3 separate regions of the Homo sapiens genome follow, and regions 1 and 2 are each linked to region 3. The links are contacts of gene promoters, found by promoter capture Hi-C in blood cells and fetal thymus (Javierre and others, 2016). All regions are on one chromosome and are shown on one strand. Each heading gives the region's core, a stretch centred on a gene start or on the middle of the fragment in contact. The rest is flanking DNA. Distances are from core to core; before and after follow the strand shown. Region 1 holds the start of SLC75A1 (solute carrier family 75 member 1). Region 2 holds the start of ADD1 (adducin 1). Region 3 overlaps MXD4 (MAX dimerization protein 4).

Region 1 (4,149 bases), core at 944-3,443, 690 kb after region 3:
GGTCAGCAACGATGGCCGTGGAGAGGCTGACGTTCCCTTTGCTGATGCCCCCAATCAGCCTGGAGGCCAGGAAGGCCGCAAAGCTCCGAGAGGTGGCCCAGACTGCATATGAGGTGGCCACACCCATCTGCCCAGGGGCAGGGGCCAAGAGGCAGGGGCGGTCGCTTAAGGCCAGGAGTGGCTCAGAGTAGGGCTTGGCAACCCAGACAACACCCCTCAACCCTGCCCTATTTCGAAGCATCTGAGGGCCACTTGCGTTCTCAGTGCCTTCCTAGGGGCCAGGAGCAGCTCCTTGAAAGCCTGGCTCTGGAACAGGAGCCACTGGTCCCCCGAGAACCCCCTCCAGGATGCGATGAGGGCCAACCAGTGGCCATGAGGGGCCCACAGCCACCTCCCTCTCCCCACCTAACCCCATGGGGCTACTGGCTGGGTGGGAGGAGGCTTCCCCATGGGCACCCAGGCCCAGGAACATACCAGGCACAGCAGCATCACCGGGCGCCTCCCCAAGCAGTCAGAGGTGGCCCCAGTGAGTGGCGCACACAGAAACTGCAGGACAGAGAATGCCGAGCCAATGAGACCTGAGAGACAGATGTCACCATCATGGGGCTGCCTGGCACCATGAGCTGTGGTCTTGGGGCCCTCAAGGCCAATGTCCAGCCCCGTCCTGAGGGTCCAGTCATGCTGGGCCCTACACTCACAGGCCATGGCCCTTGAGCCGAGGGGGCCCCAATGGAGAGATGAGGAAGGATCTGAACGTGACACGCGGAGGCAAGGGATCATGCCCAGAAGCCAGGACATGTGGGCAAGGGCACCAGACATGCCAGCCCAGGGAGTGGGAAGGCAAGGACCGAGAATTGGGGAGGGGCCTGGGCTGGACCACGTCCACCAAACATAGGACCGTAGAGAGCCCGCCAAGGGCACAGAGCCAGCCATACCTCCGAACAGGACACTGTTGTACCTCTTCTCCACTGGCATCCCGATGGCGGTGGCAAACCAGTCCACCCCGCCCTGCCAGGAGCCATAGAGGGGGTCCTAGGGGATGAGGAATCACGATAAGGGCTGGGGAGGTCTGATGGGCCTGGGGGGCAGGGGGCACTGTGGGCCGCAGGGCAAGGACTCACGTGGGCACGGCCGTGGCTCTCCAACAGCCCGGGCAGCAGGGGCAGCAGCAGCGTGAAGGCCAGGAGGTCCAGCAGGAGGCCGAGAAAGACAACGGTGACCACGCGGCGCTCCGGCGGCTGCTGGTGGATGGGTGGGCGCGGGGTGCAGCCTCCACCCCCTCCCCATCCCATGGTGGGCTGCTCTGACCTGGCCTGGGTGGGGTGCGGCGGGTCGGGTTAGCGGGGAAGCCGAGTCCTCCGGGGCCTGGCATACCCCCACACCCGACAGCCGGCGAGCACCCTAAAGGGGCTGATGGCAGGGGCTCTGGCCTACGGACGCAGGGGCCGTTCTGGCCTGCGCGATGCCCCCGCCCCGAACCCAGGCAGCAGGAAACGCAGGCTTCGGGGATTGCACAAAAAATAGCCGCAAAGGCAACGGTCCTGAGAGACCAGGGTGAGCACATCGCGGACCTGGCCCCACCCCACCCCACGGCCGCGCCTCCCACGCCCTCGTAACAGCGAGAGAAAACTTGAAGCCGCGGGGAACCCGGATCCCGATCCCGATCCCGATCCCGATCCCAACCCCAACCCCAGCCCCGGCCCGCGCCCCGCGATTCCGGCCCCTGGCCCGGACTCGGTCTCCCTGGCGGGGGCCATGGGGTGCACACCGGACGCAGGAGCACCCCCAACCCCGCGCGCCTCCCACTCCGCCATCCCGCGTGCGTCCCGGTCCCGCCCCCACCCCGCGCGCCCCCGGTCCCGCCCCCCACCCTGCGCGTCCCCGGTCCCGTCCCCCACCCTGCGCGCCCTCTAACCCCCACGCCGCGCGCCTCCCACCGCCCCCACCCCGCGCGCCCCTGGTCCAGCCCCACACCCCGCGCGCCCCCTACTCCCCTACCCTGCGCACCTCTCACCCGCCCCACCCCCGCGTACCCCGGGTCCCGTCTCCTCCCCCACCCCGCGCGTCCCCTGTCCCACCCCCAACCCGAGCGCCCCCTACGCCCCCCACCCCGGGCGCCCCCGGTCCCGCCCCGCACCTGCCGCGGCTGCGCGCTCGGGACGGACGGTCGCACAGACGCGGAACAGGGCACCAGGCACGCCGCCAGGGGCGGGACGGCCACGCCCGGCCACGCCACGCCCCGGAAGTGACGTACATCTCTGCACGTTCTCTTCCGGCCGGAGTCAGTGGCGGGGTTCTCGCCGGTCCTGCGGGTCGCTGCTTGGCTGTGGGTTAGCAGCACCCTGAGCGGAGCGGAAGAGCTGCCCGCCGCCGCGTAACCCCGAGGCCGAGACTCCTGGCCTGGCCTCCTTGGGCCCACGACGCCTGCCCCGCGGAGCGGACCCATGGGCCTGAGGTTTGTGTGCGGGGCCTCAGGCGAGCGCTGGCGCAGCCTGTCCCCCATCGTCTGCGCCCTGCGGGCCTGGCCCTCCCCGTGGAAGGACCGCGGGCTTCGGGGCCCCACGCTGGGGGGCTGACTCCTGCCACACACACAGCGGTGGCCGCGGGCCTGGGGCGGCAGCACAGCCATTCTGCTCGGGCTGCGTGAGCTGACCCCGCTCTCTGTGCACCTACTTTTGCTGCGTTTGGTGCTGAGCCTGAAGTCCCAGGACAGGCGGCTGAGGGGGAAAGATGGTGTGAATTGGGTGGGCAGAGACAACTGAAAGCCACAGGACCCGGTTGGCACCTTTTTGGCCGCCTGCGCCTTTGCCTGCAGCCCCGCTCCCTGGGTCACCCGAAGGAGGAGCTGGCGCTCTTTCCGGGCGCAGAAGCACCCGACCCACGCTGGAGGAAACGGTCCCTCTGGGCAGGAGAAGCTTTGGGCCTGGCTGGAGCACACTCACGGAACCACGCCAACGCCTGGCCTGTAGCCAGCTCCCACCTCCCCTCCCACCTTCTAAAATGCTTGCGGATCTCACGTGGCCGACCCTAACCAGATACACATGGGGAAAGGAATCAGGTGGCACACATACCGCCTTTACTCCATAGAGAACTTCCAATTGTGGGTAAGAACAAAGCCCCACCTCTTCCTAATAGATGCAGTTTTCCACCTGCAGCCAAAAAGACAACCTGTTATTAGCTTTTTTCCCAGAGGACAGGCATCTCTATGAAACTGCCATTGCAAAATTTGCCGACAGTGAGATAACCAGCTCCATTTTGCTTCTAACCTCCATGCCCTCCTTGTTTACTGCTGCACGCAGGTTGAACTGTGGGAGGAACTTAGTTTAAAACAAAGATGATAACAGCCCTTTCCCAAAGGAAACCTTTCCTGGGGATTAGCCTGCTTTTGTGGGACCAACAGATTAGCCACAAGATTAGAAACTACGGTTGAAGAGTCACGCAGCGGGAGGCTACAGGATTCTGACCCTCCCCAAACTGCTCCTGGCGATAACATCACCATCGTAAAGCCTAAGATCAGCACTTGGTGGGTCACCTGGCACCACCCAGGCTCATCTGATGTTGTGGCACCCAGGAACTGACTCAGTGCGAAAACAGCTTCGACTCCCTGTGATTTCATCTCTGACCTGACCAATGGGTACTTCTGACTCACTGGCTGCCCCCCACCCACCAGCTTATCTTTAAAAACTCCAAACCCCAGATGCTCAGGGAGACCGAGTAATAATAAAACTCCAGTCTCCCACACAGCTAGCTCTGCGTGAATTACCTTTTCTCTGTTGCAAATGCCCTTTCTTGATAAATTGGCTGTCTAGGTAACAGGGAAGGTGAACCCACTGGGCAGTTACACTTTTATCCACCCTTCCAGCTGGATCACGCGCCCTCTTCAATGACATGACACGCAGCTAGAGTGTATGAGCTTGCTGCCGGCACCTTCCGTCCTGGATCGCATAGCAAGGCCTCAATGGACAGCCAGGTGCCTGGTCCGGTCCCACTTTTTTTTCTGTCCTGTTCTCGTTTCCTCTTTGCTTGGCCAAAGAGGGTTGGGCCAGGGTCCTGAGTGCAAAGGCTTGGCTTGGTGAATTAAAGTGGCAGTAGCCGTGTGGCAGAGAAAATTTGTAGATGGGTGAAATCCTGGGCCTACACAGTGACAAA
Region 2 (4,415 bases), core at 1,748-4,247, 600 kb after region 3:
CCTCTCTTTCCATTTGGGTCTTCTTTAAGGTTTACCAATAGGATTTTATATTTTTGTCCATTGTGGTCTTGCTTATCTTAAGTTTGATTTGTAAATATTTTATGTTTCTTTTAGTCTATTGTAAATTGTGTATTTTTAATTTCATTTTTTTTTTTGTTAATAGCATATAAAACACACCTTGTCTTTTAACTGGAGCATTTTGTCCATTGTGTATTTAATGTAATTAAATCTACCATCTTATTTTATGCTACATATTGTCTCACTTGTGTTTGTGTTTTCTTCCTCCCTTTTCTCTCCTTTTCCCCTTCTTTGAGATTGAGCAACTTAAAACAAATCATTTCATTTCCCCCCTTCTCCTAGTTAGAAAGTTAAACACTCTCTATTCTTACTGAAGTCTAGAGTTAACTAATAAATACTTTTATCCTCCTCCTGGACAACATAAGGACCTCAGGTGACTTTCATTGGTCTCCCTCATTACTTGATATTATTGTTGTATATATCTAATTCTAACTCAATGTATTTTAAAACTCTCACCTAAGACCGTATTTGTTTTTTTGTTTTTTTTTTTTTGGAGGCAGAGTCTCTGTCACCCAGGCTGGAGTGCAGTGGCGCCATCTTGGCTCATTGCAACCTCCATCTCCTGGGTTCAAGCAATTCTTGTGCCTCAGCCTCCTGAGTAGCTGGAATTACAGGTGCCTGCCACCAGACCCAGCTAATTTCTTGTATTTTTAGTAGAGACAGTGTTCTGCCATGTTGTCCATGTTGATCTCTTAACTCCTGAGCTCAGGCAATCCTCCCGCCTTGGCCTCCCAAATTGCTAGGATTACAGGCAAGAGCCACCACGCCTGGACCTTTTTACTTTTTTGTAGTTGGAAAAGGAAGGAATATTTTAATAGCTTTAAAATTGTTTTATTATGATAAAATTTTCATATTATAAAGTTTATCATTTTAATTATTTTAAAGTGTACAGTTCTGTGGCTTTGCGAATATTCATATTATTGTTCAGTCATCACCACCATCCATCTCCAGAACTTTTTCATCACCCCAAGCTTAAACTCTGTACCCATTAAACACTAAATCCCCATTCCTCCAGCCCTTTGCAACCACCATTCTACCTCCTGTCTCTCTGAATTTGACTACTCTAGACACCTCATACAAGTGGAATCATACATTTATCTTTTTGTGATTGGGTTATTTCACATAGCATGTCTTCAGTGTTCATCCATGTTGTAGCATGCGTCAGAATTTCCTTTCTTTTGGCCAGGCATCGTGGTTTATGGGTTTATGCCTGTAATCCCAGCACTTTGGGAGGCTGAGTTTGGATTTGGGAAGATTGCTTGAGCCTAGGAGTTTGAGACCAGCCCTGGCAACATAGTGAGATCCCGTCTCTACAAAAAATAACAAAAATTAGCCAGGCATGTTGGCACGTGCTGGTAGTCCCAGCTACTTGGGAGGCTGAGGCAGGAGGATCCCTTGAGCCTAGGAGGTCAAGGCTGCAGTGAGCCATGGTTGCAACACTGCACTGCAGCCTGGGCGACAGAGACCCTGACTCCAAAAAAAAAAAAAAAAAAAAAAAAAAGGCACAAAACCCCAATAAATAGAATTTCCTTCTCTGCATAATGCTGCTATGAACATGGTACAAATAGCTGTTTTCATTTCTTTGGGGTATATATCCAGAAGTGGAATTGCTGGATTATGTGGTAATTATGTTTAATTTTTTGAGGAACCACTCTACGGTTTTCCACAGCAGCCACACCATTTTACATTCCCGTCAGCGATGCACAAAGGGTTCCAATTTCTCCGCATCTTTGCCAACACTTATTTTCTTTTTTTCCTCTTCTTCCTCCTTCTCCCCCCTTGAAACTTTTTGTTTTCTTCTCGTTTTTGTAGAGAACAGGGTCTCCTTATGTTGTCCAGTCAAGTCTGCCAACTCCTGGGCTCAGGCTATCCTCCTGTTTCTGCCTCCCTAAGTGCTGGGATTTTAGGCTGAAGCCACTGCGCCCAACTCCCTGCTTCTTCAACTGCCATCCTAATGAATGTTAAGTGGTATCCCACAGTGGTTTTGATTTGCGTTTCCCTAGTGATTAACTATGGGAAGCAGAAGTGAATGAGACAGAATTGTGATCTTGTCAGAAAAATCGTCTTGGAAAAGCCAACGTCCAACAGAAATGGTTAGAACAGGGGTCGCTGGCTTCCATCCAGACAGTATCCCTGACCCTTGTTGGGGCAATGTCACAGAGGCTCCTGCTGAGCAGGGAGGTCTGGATTCCACACTCTTCTGCCACTGCCCAGCTCTGGACCTAAGCTTTCTATGGGTGTCAAGAGGACAAGCAGCCGTGCCCATTTGTCTCGCTGCTTGTTTTTTTGGGTGTCAGATGCGCCAGCAGGAGGGACAGTGTGCGGGAAGGTGCTGGTCTGAGGCTGGTCCTGCCAAAGCCCCGCAGGCTCACTCCCTGGTCGTGCGGAGGTGGCTGGTGCTCGCTGGTCTCCTCAGCACCCGCAGGCCGGGCCCGGGGGCCAGGCAGTTGTCCTCTGTGGAGCCTTATCGGGGCCCACAGGCCCTGCTGCCTTGACCCCACCCGGGCCCCAAAACTCGGCCTGGGGACTGCACAAGGCGGGGCTACGCGGGGCAGGGCCCGTCTGCTGGGGGAGTGCGCTGGGCGGCGGCGGGAGGGCAGGGTCCCTGGGCTCCGACAGCCCCTCCGGCGGAGGTCAATCACAATGAAACCGTGTCCAGCGGACCCGGCAGGGGCTCGCCGCAGTCTACCTGGCCACCGTGAAGCCATGACCTGGCGCCCGAAGCTGCCGGCCGGGGTGTACTCCGCGCGGGACCCTGGGCCTCCGCAGGCCCCGGCGGGGTCGCCCCGAGGCGGGCCTGGCGAGTCCAATCGCCCTGCCCGCAGGGGACCCGCCCCTCATGGGTCCCGCCAATCGCAGGGTACGTTGCTCGGCAGTGCTGCGCGGCTTGGCCTATGGGACGGCGCGTTGTTGGGCTGCAGCGCCGCAGGCCGCACCCAGGTCGGGCGGTGGGGGCGAGCGGAGGGGCTGAGGGGCGGAGAGGCCTGGCGGGCCGCTGCTGCGGGCCAGGGGACGGGGGCGGAGCCGGAGCCGGAGCCGACGGGCGGTGGCCGCACTGGGACCCCGGAATCCCGCGCGCTGCCCACGATTCGCTTCTGAGGTGAGGCTAGCTAGCGGGGGCGGCGGGGGCCCGGTTCGGGCTGAGGCGGCGGCGGGGGCGCGGGGAACTGGGCCGCGGTTGCGGCGGGCGGGGGCCGCGGGGCCTGCGGCGGCCCGGGCAGCCTCGGGGGCGGGGAGGCCGCTGCGGCGCCGAGGGCGTCTTGGAGGGGTCCCCGCGGGGCCTTCGGCCTGGGCCGAGCCGGGGAGCGAGGGCGCCGCAGATCTTTCATCGGGATAGGACCCCGGGGACTAGGCTTTTCCCGGGCCGCTCGTTCCTGGCCGGCTTGTGGGCTGCAGGGGTGGGGGCGGAGGAGGACGACCCTGGCTGGACGCTGGTCAGCATCCTGCTTGTGAGACCGGTTCCGCGGTCCGCAGCGCTGGTGGCTGCAAGGTTTGTGTACGGACGCATCTGTCGGCTCTCGTATTTAAAAACGACGGCTTCTGCCAAAAGAGAAAAGCCATATCTGCCGACGGACGCTCGAGAGATAATCGTGGAACTTTATCAGCGATGGGGCTGTTGGTCACCTTTGCCCTCCCTCTCTTTTCTTTTTTCTTAATCTTTTATTTTCGTTTTTTGGGAGATGTCAGAGGGCCTTTCCCTGTTAGGATGACTTTTATCTTTGCTCTTGTAATGGCTCAAGATAGTTGGGAGGTAATTTGCATTCACTTTATGCATACCCACCTTGAAAAACGTATTTTGGTTCGCCTGAAACTGTTGTTGGTTTGAGCATAATTTATGTTTAGAAAGACAAAAAGCAATTGTCATATCTCCAAAGACCAAAGACATAGCTGATAGCTGTATGCATTACTGGTAAGTTAAAGAAAGATTTTTTGTGTGAAAAATTGACTGAGATCTTAATGGGGATAGGAAATAGAATGCTGATAGGTCGACTGTGTCTATGAGTAGAGGCGCCTAGTGAAAACAAGCTTGGAGTGGATGAGTAGGAGTTCAACAGGCACCAGAGAGAGGAGGGCATTTCAGGCAGAGGGTGTGAATTGTATGAAAGTGAGTTTGTAAACTTTGGAGCCTTGAATGGACAAAGGCCCGCGATGATACCTTTTTTTTTTGAGACGGAGTCTCGCTCTGTCGCCAGGCTGGAGTACAGTGGCGCGATCTCCAGTCACTGCAATCTCCGCCTCCCAGGTTCAAGCAATTCTCCTACCTCAGCCTCCCGAGTAGCTGGGACTACAGGCGCGCGCCACCACGCCCAGCTAATTTTTGTATTTTTAGTAGAGAC
Region 3 (4,604 bases), core at 297-2,796:
AGCATAATTCTGCAAGATGAAAAATGACAAAAGGTGGTAAGAGACAAGATACAGGACCACTCTTGCAGCATGTAGGAGAGGAGGAGAGAGCTGGACAGAGAGAGCTGCAGGAGCTGGCAAAGCCTGGGGCCTGATGACTAGCCTGGGTCCGAGACACTCCGGGGTTTCCAGCTGAGTAGGGAGTGGCATTTCTTCCTATTCTTCCCACTAATCCTTCCTGTTAAGAAGAAAGTAGAAGACTATAGGGTTGGGAAAGAGTTTGTTTTCCATCCTGTTGACATTCATGTGACAAAGCGAGAACTCAGTCCCCAGACTCAGGAGCAGGTTTGGGTCAGCACAAGCCCAAAGGAGGTGACAGAGTTCATTCACCAAGGTGGCCACGTGGAGAGGGCCTTTGAAGTGGGGAGGAATGGGAACCACAAGGGCTGGCAGCAGAGCCTGGGACTGGTGGGGTGTCAGAAAGGGCCTCAGGACAGGAAGAGGAGTTGTGAACCCCTGAGGCTCAGCAGGCCAGTGGCATAACCATTTACATTCTAGAAAGATCCCCATGAGGCCAGTGTGTACAGGGCTGACCTGGCCAAGGACTAGGAAAGGAGGAAGGAGCAATGCGAGAAGGCCCTGTGGCGATTAGCCCAGATGATTCCAGCGCCTAATTTGGGTGACCATAATCTCAGCAAAAATGTGGTGGGAAGGGATATAGGGGGCTCAGGGCCCACTTCCCAGAGGAGGCTGTGCCTGAGCTGGTGAATGCAGGGAGCAGGTGGGAGTGGGGGCTGAAGCCAGGGCAGGGGTGGGCCGGACTGAGCTGAAGGACAAAACGCGGTGTTTCAGTTTAATCTGGAGGCCATGGGGACCCAGAGGAGGACTTTAGGGAGGTGAGCAAGGAGACCTTTAAGGTCATTCAGGCTGCCAAGAAGAGGGTGGGTAGGAGGCTGCAGGCAGGGTCCTACTTGGAGGGGGACTTGCTGTAACCCAACAAGCACAAAGATGGAAAACAGAGATGGACTCTGCTGGGAGAATCAAGGGCTTCCCAAAGGACAGGGGTCCTGTCCCAGGTATCCCACCCGCCAGCCTGGTGAGCAGGGGAGGGGTGCGTCTCCAAATCTCAGTGTGCCACCTGTGAGAAGGGCCCAGCATGATGGTACCAGGCACCAATCATACATGGAACTGGGCACAGCCCCTGGCACCTGCATGCCCTCGATAGAAAACGGTAGTGGTGATCCCAAATCCTAATATTTGGGATTTAAATGTCCACATTTACATGAATGGCCAAATCCTGGTGTCTCTGAGGCCCCAGCCACATTCCCAGGAGGAACTGCTTTCTTTCCTGGGGTGCCCCCGCTAATGGCCTCGAGGGCCCTGGGGCCCACACAGGTTCAACGATCCGGACTCTGCTGCTGGGGGTTAGGGGAGCTCAGATTCCTCCCTGAGGCCCCCAGCAGTTACCCTCCATGGCCACCCCACAACCTGCTGGCGGGTCCCACTGGGCCACCTCCAGTGCATAGCTGCCGTGTGCACAGTGTGGCGACCTCACACTCAGGACCCCCCGTATGACCACCCAGCTCCATCAATTCTCCAGCACTCAAGGCAGGCATGTCCTCTCTCAGCTGCCCACTGCTGGGGCCCCCAGGACTCCTCCCTGTGCACCAGGGTAGCTGGGCCCACACCCCCACCAACCCCGGCCCTCGGCAGATCAGAGGTCTCTGCTTCCAAGGGGGTTCCCTCCAAAAGGCCTCCCTGTGGGGGAGCGGGCAGCCAGCCTGGCTTGCTTGGGTGAGAACAAGGCCTCTTCTCCCCACTGCGTGAAGTCTCATCGCCTCACAACCACCCCGTGATGGGCACGACAGGAGCCTGTGTCTCCGTGGTCACCACCAGCACAAGGGGACAGCTGGCTACACCATCTCGCTTCACCTCAGCACGGCAGGTCCCCATGACAGGAAGCAGAAGCCGTGCCCAGGTAGTTCTGGGAACAGGTACAGAGCGATTCTCACAGTGCAGCTCTGAGAGCCAGCAGCCTCTGTGCAGAGGGCTCCTGGCTGGCACGGAGCACCCCAGGGAGCGGGCTGTCCTCGGCCAGCAGGGCCCCAGCACAAGGGCCAGAGGCAAAGTCCCAGTGCCTCTGGGACAAGAGCAACAAGAGCATCCAGTTGGCCAACAGGCCCATGGGGGCGCCCACCTCAACCCCACCTTCACCCAGCTCCAGGCGCCACAGCATCCAGGGAGGCAGCTGTGACGGCGGGCCCGGTGTGGTTGGCGGCACGGGGTGCCGTGCTCCGTCAGGCCTCCCAGGAAAGAGGCTGTGGTAGGGCAACGAGGGCCACGGCCCGAAGGCCACATGGCGTGGTGCCATTGGGCCAGGCTTTCTGCTTGGAGGCCGAGGGCAGGGCGCGAAGCACGCTGACAGTGACAACCACAGAAAGAGCCGGAGCCAGCAGGGTGAGATATAAAAATCTGTATTTATATTACAATGACATAAGGACACAGCACGGCCCACACGGTGGACAGGTGGCCGGGGGCCCCTTTCCCCCTCTAGCGCACGCCCCCCTCACCGGCACCAGGCCCTCGTGTGGCCCCCGACTCTGGCACGGAACCTGCCCTAGTGCCCAACATGGACCTGGGGCCACCCTGCTGGCCGAGGGTCAGGGTCCTCTGTGCAGGCAGTGGGGAGGGGGTCCCAGGTTCCCTGACAGAGGGAGGCAGGGCACGGGGGAGCCTGCCTCACCCAGCGGACAGCACGGGCCGGGGCAGACAGAGCAGGGACCCTAGGGCCACAGACCGGTACAGGGTTCCACCACCCGGGGACACAGGCCCAAGCACCGTGCCACTAAGATGGGGTCTGCAGAGGCAAAGCCTTGCTGCAGCCTCTCCCACTCTGCGAGGATGGCGGGGGTCTGCTATGTGGTTTGCGGGGGTTATCCTGGTATGCGGGAGCTGCCTTCCAATAAGGCTGGGGAACCCAAGCCTGAGTCTGGGTGCTCAGTGGCCGAGAGCACTGGTGTGGGCTGGGAGGGCACACGCAGAGGCTCAGGAGCCCCGGGCTCTGTTCTGCTTCTGTCTGCTCTCTATAGACACGGTGATGGCCTCTTGGTCCCTGCAGCCTCCAGTGATGGCAGCCTGGGCCCCTGACAGGGAGCAGTGGGAGGTTGGAGCATGTGGTGACTCCTAGCACGGGCCCCCACCCAGTGGGCAACCCCTCACCCACCTGCTGATGGCAGGGAGGGGCAGCTGAACAGCACCCCGGGTGGCTGAGACTGCCTCCCAGTCCACGTGGGAACCACGGCCTCAAGAGCCACAGGCTGAGCTGCCGGGAGGGTGGGCTGAGGGGCCACCACTGGTCACCGGGTGGATTCTGCTGGTCAGAGATGAGAGCAGAAGCCCCTAGCTGCCTCAGGCACTGGAGGGTGGGGCAGGGAGCTGGTGCTTCAAGAATTGAGGGCAGGGACACGACCACCTCAGGGCCCTGCAGTGCTGGCTGGGGAAGCAAGCTTTTACACACGGCCCGCCTTGCTCGGAGGTGCCACGGTGTTTGAAATGAAGCCTGGGGGGACAGACTCAGGCAGGCAGGGGAAGCTCCTTTCTGGGCACCCCTGGACCCCAGTGGGGCCGGAAGGAGATGCAGACAGGCCTCCTCACAACCACCCGCAACGCGTTCGGATGCCCCTCAGCTCCAGGCACCATGCCCCCTACAGCCTGCAGGGCAGGTTCTGTGCCAGAGTTGTTTCCAGGGACCCCCTTCCGCCACAGTGGGCCCCCCATCCTGGGGCGTCTATGCGTACGACTGAAAATAGACACGAATTTTCCCCATGATATGGGAATTGGCTACAGATGTACCAGAGGCACGGCAGGCACTGCTATGGGCCAGCCCCAAGGACAGAGGACGTCAGGAAGGAAAGGCGGGTGCAAGCCTCCTGGTGCCAGGCCTGCACCACCCAGCGAGCACAGTCTTCATTGGCTGCCAGTGTCTGAAACCTGGAACCCTCGCCTAGGCCAGGAAGCAGGGGGCTCGAGTCAGGTGACAGGTGAGAATCCATCTCTCTAGTGAGCAAGCAGGCCCCTGCCAGCCACTGGGGAGGGCAACACTGGGGACCAGGTCACAGCCCCTCCGTGCCACCCACAGGGGCCTGGCTGCATCGCCTCCAGGAAGCCCTGGCTGCCGGGAGGGGCTGCCCACAGGAGATGGGAGGACAGCACTAGCTGGGCAGGCCTGGGGCACCCTGAGCCACGAGGGACATGCTGGTGGGAAGGGCAAGGCCTGACACAAGACACAAGGCACACTTTGACGACGTGACGGAGGGACAGGTCCCTGAGACGCTGGGTGGCTCCCACCCCTCAGCAAACAAGGACGCAACAACAGCTAGGAAAATAGAATACAAAAATCTGGTACAGGAAACAGAGGCGGCACACACGGACGTCCCTAGGCCGAGAGTCTTTAGGCTTTCTTCTTTTTAAAAATGGTTTTTTTTTTTTTTCTGGGAAAGCCTCTCTGCCAGCTGAAGCTGCCGCAGCAGAGCTCATGAGAAGCCCTTTCCTAAGGTGGCTCCAGGAGCCCTAACCGGGCTGCTGGGCAGTGCAGCATTTTACTTTTTTGCTTTTTGTTTAAAAAA

The links. Contacts are between HindIII fragments. The CHiCAGO score rates a contact against its expected background, and 5 or more counts as called.
Region 1: a contact is called between the fragment with the promoter of SLC75A1 here and a fragment that was not itself captured in region 3, in 3 of 17 cell types (neutrophils, fetal thymus and activated CD4 T cells). The highest score is 6.8, in neutrophils.
Region 2: the fragment with the promoter of ADD1 here is called in contact with a fragment that was not itself captured in region 3 in 4 of 17 cell types (erythroblasts, neutrophils, monocytes and 1 more); the score reaches 7.4 in erythroblasts.

The regions. Positions count from the first base shown.
Region 1 is chr4:2,932,632-2,936,780 of GRCh38, forward strand. SLC75A1 (solute carrier family 75 member 1) reads right to left here and starts at 2,194. Exons shown (of 13, transcript NM_001146069.2): 1 at 2,138-2,194; 2 at 1,122-1,313; 3 at 936-1,032; 4 at 475-578; 5 at 1-127. The coding sequence starts at 1,292. NOP14-AS1 (NOP14 antisense RNA 1) reads left to right here and starts at 2,915. Exons shown (of 4, transcript NR_015453.2): 1 at 2,915-4,149. RefSeq lists enhancers at 435-664, 685-814, 907-1,774, 3,032-4,149, 4,034-4,149 and silencers at 1,615-1,834, 2,064-2,373, 2,534-2,643. The HindIII fragment of the contact is 5,918 bases long and covers 1-2,913 here.
Region 2 is chr4:2,840,847-2,845,261 of GRCh38, forward strand. ADD1 (adducin 1) reads left to right here and starts at 2,998. Exons shown (of 16, transcript NM_001354761.2): 1 at 2,998-3,178. SH3BP2 (SH3 domain binding protein 2) reads left to right here. Exons shown (of 13, transcript NM_001122681.2): 13 at 1-250. RefSeq lists an enhancer at 1,770-2,281 and silencers at 2,410-2,459, 2,560-2,939, 3,000-3,189, 3,310-3,459. The HindIII fragment of the contact is 1,799 bases long and covers 2,304-4,102 here.
Region 3 is chr4:2,244,995-2,249,598 of GRCh38, forward strand. MXD4 (MAX dimerization protein 4) reads right to left here. Exons shown (of 6, transcript NM_006454.3): 6 at 2,438-4,604. Among named protein-coding and RNA genes, the nearest start is that of MIR4800, 2.9 kb to the right of the region's middle. The HindIII fragment of the contact is 3,873 bases long and covers 1-3,483 here.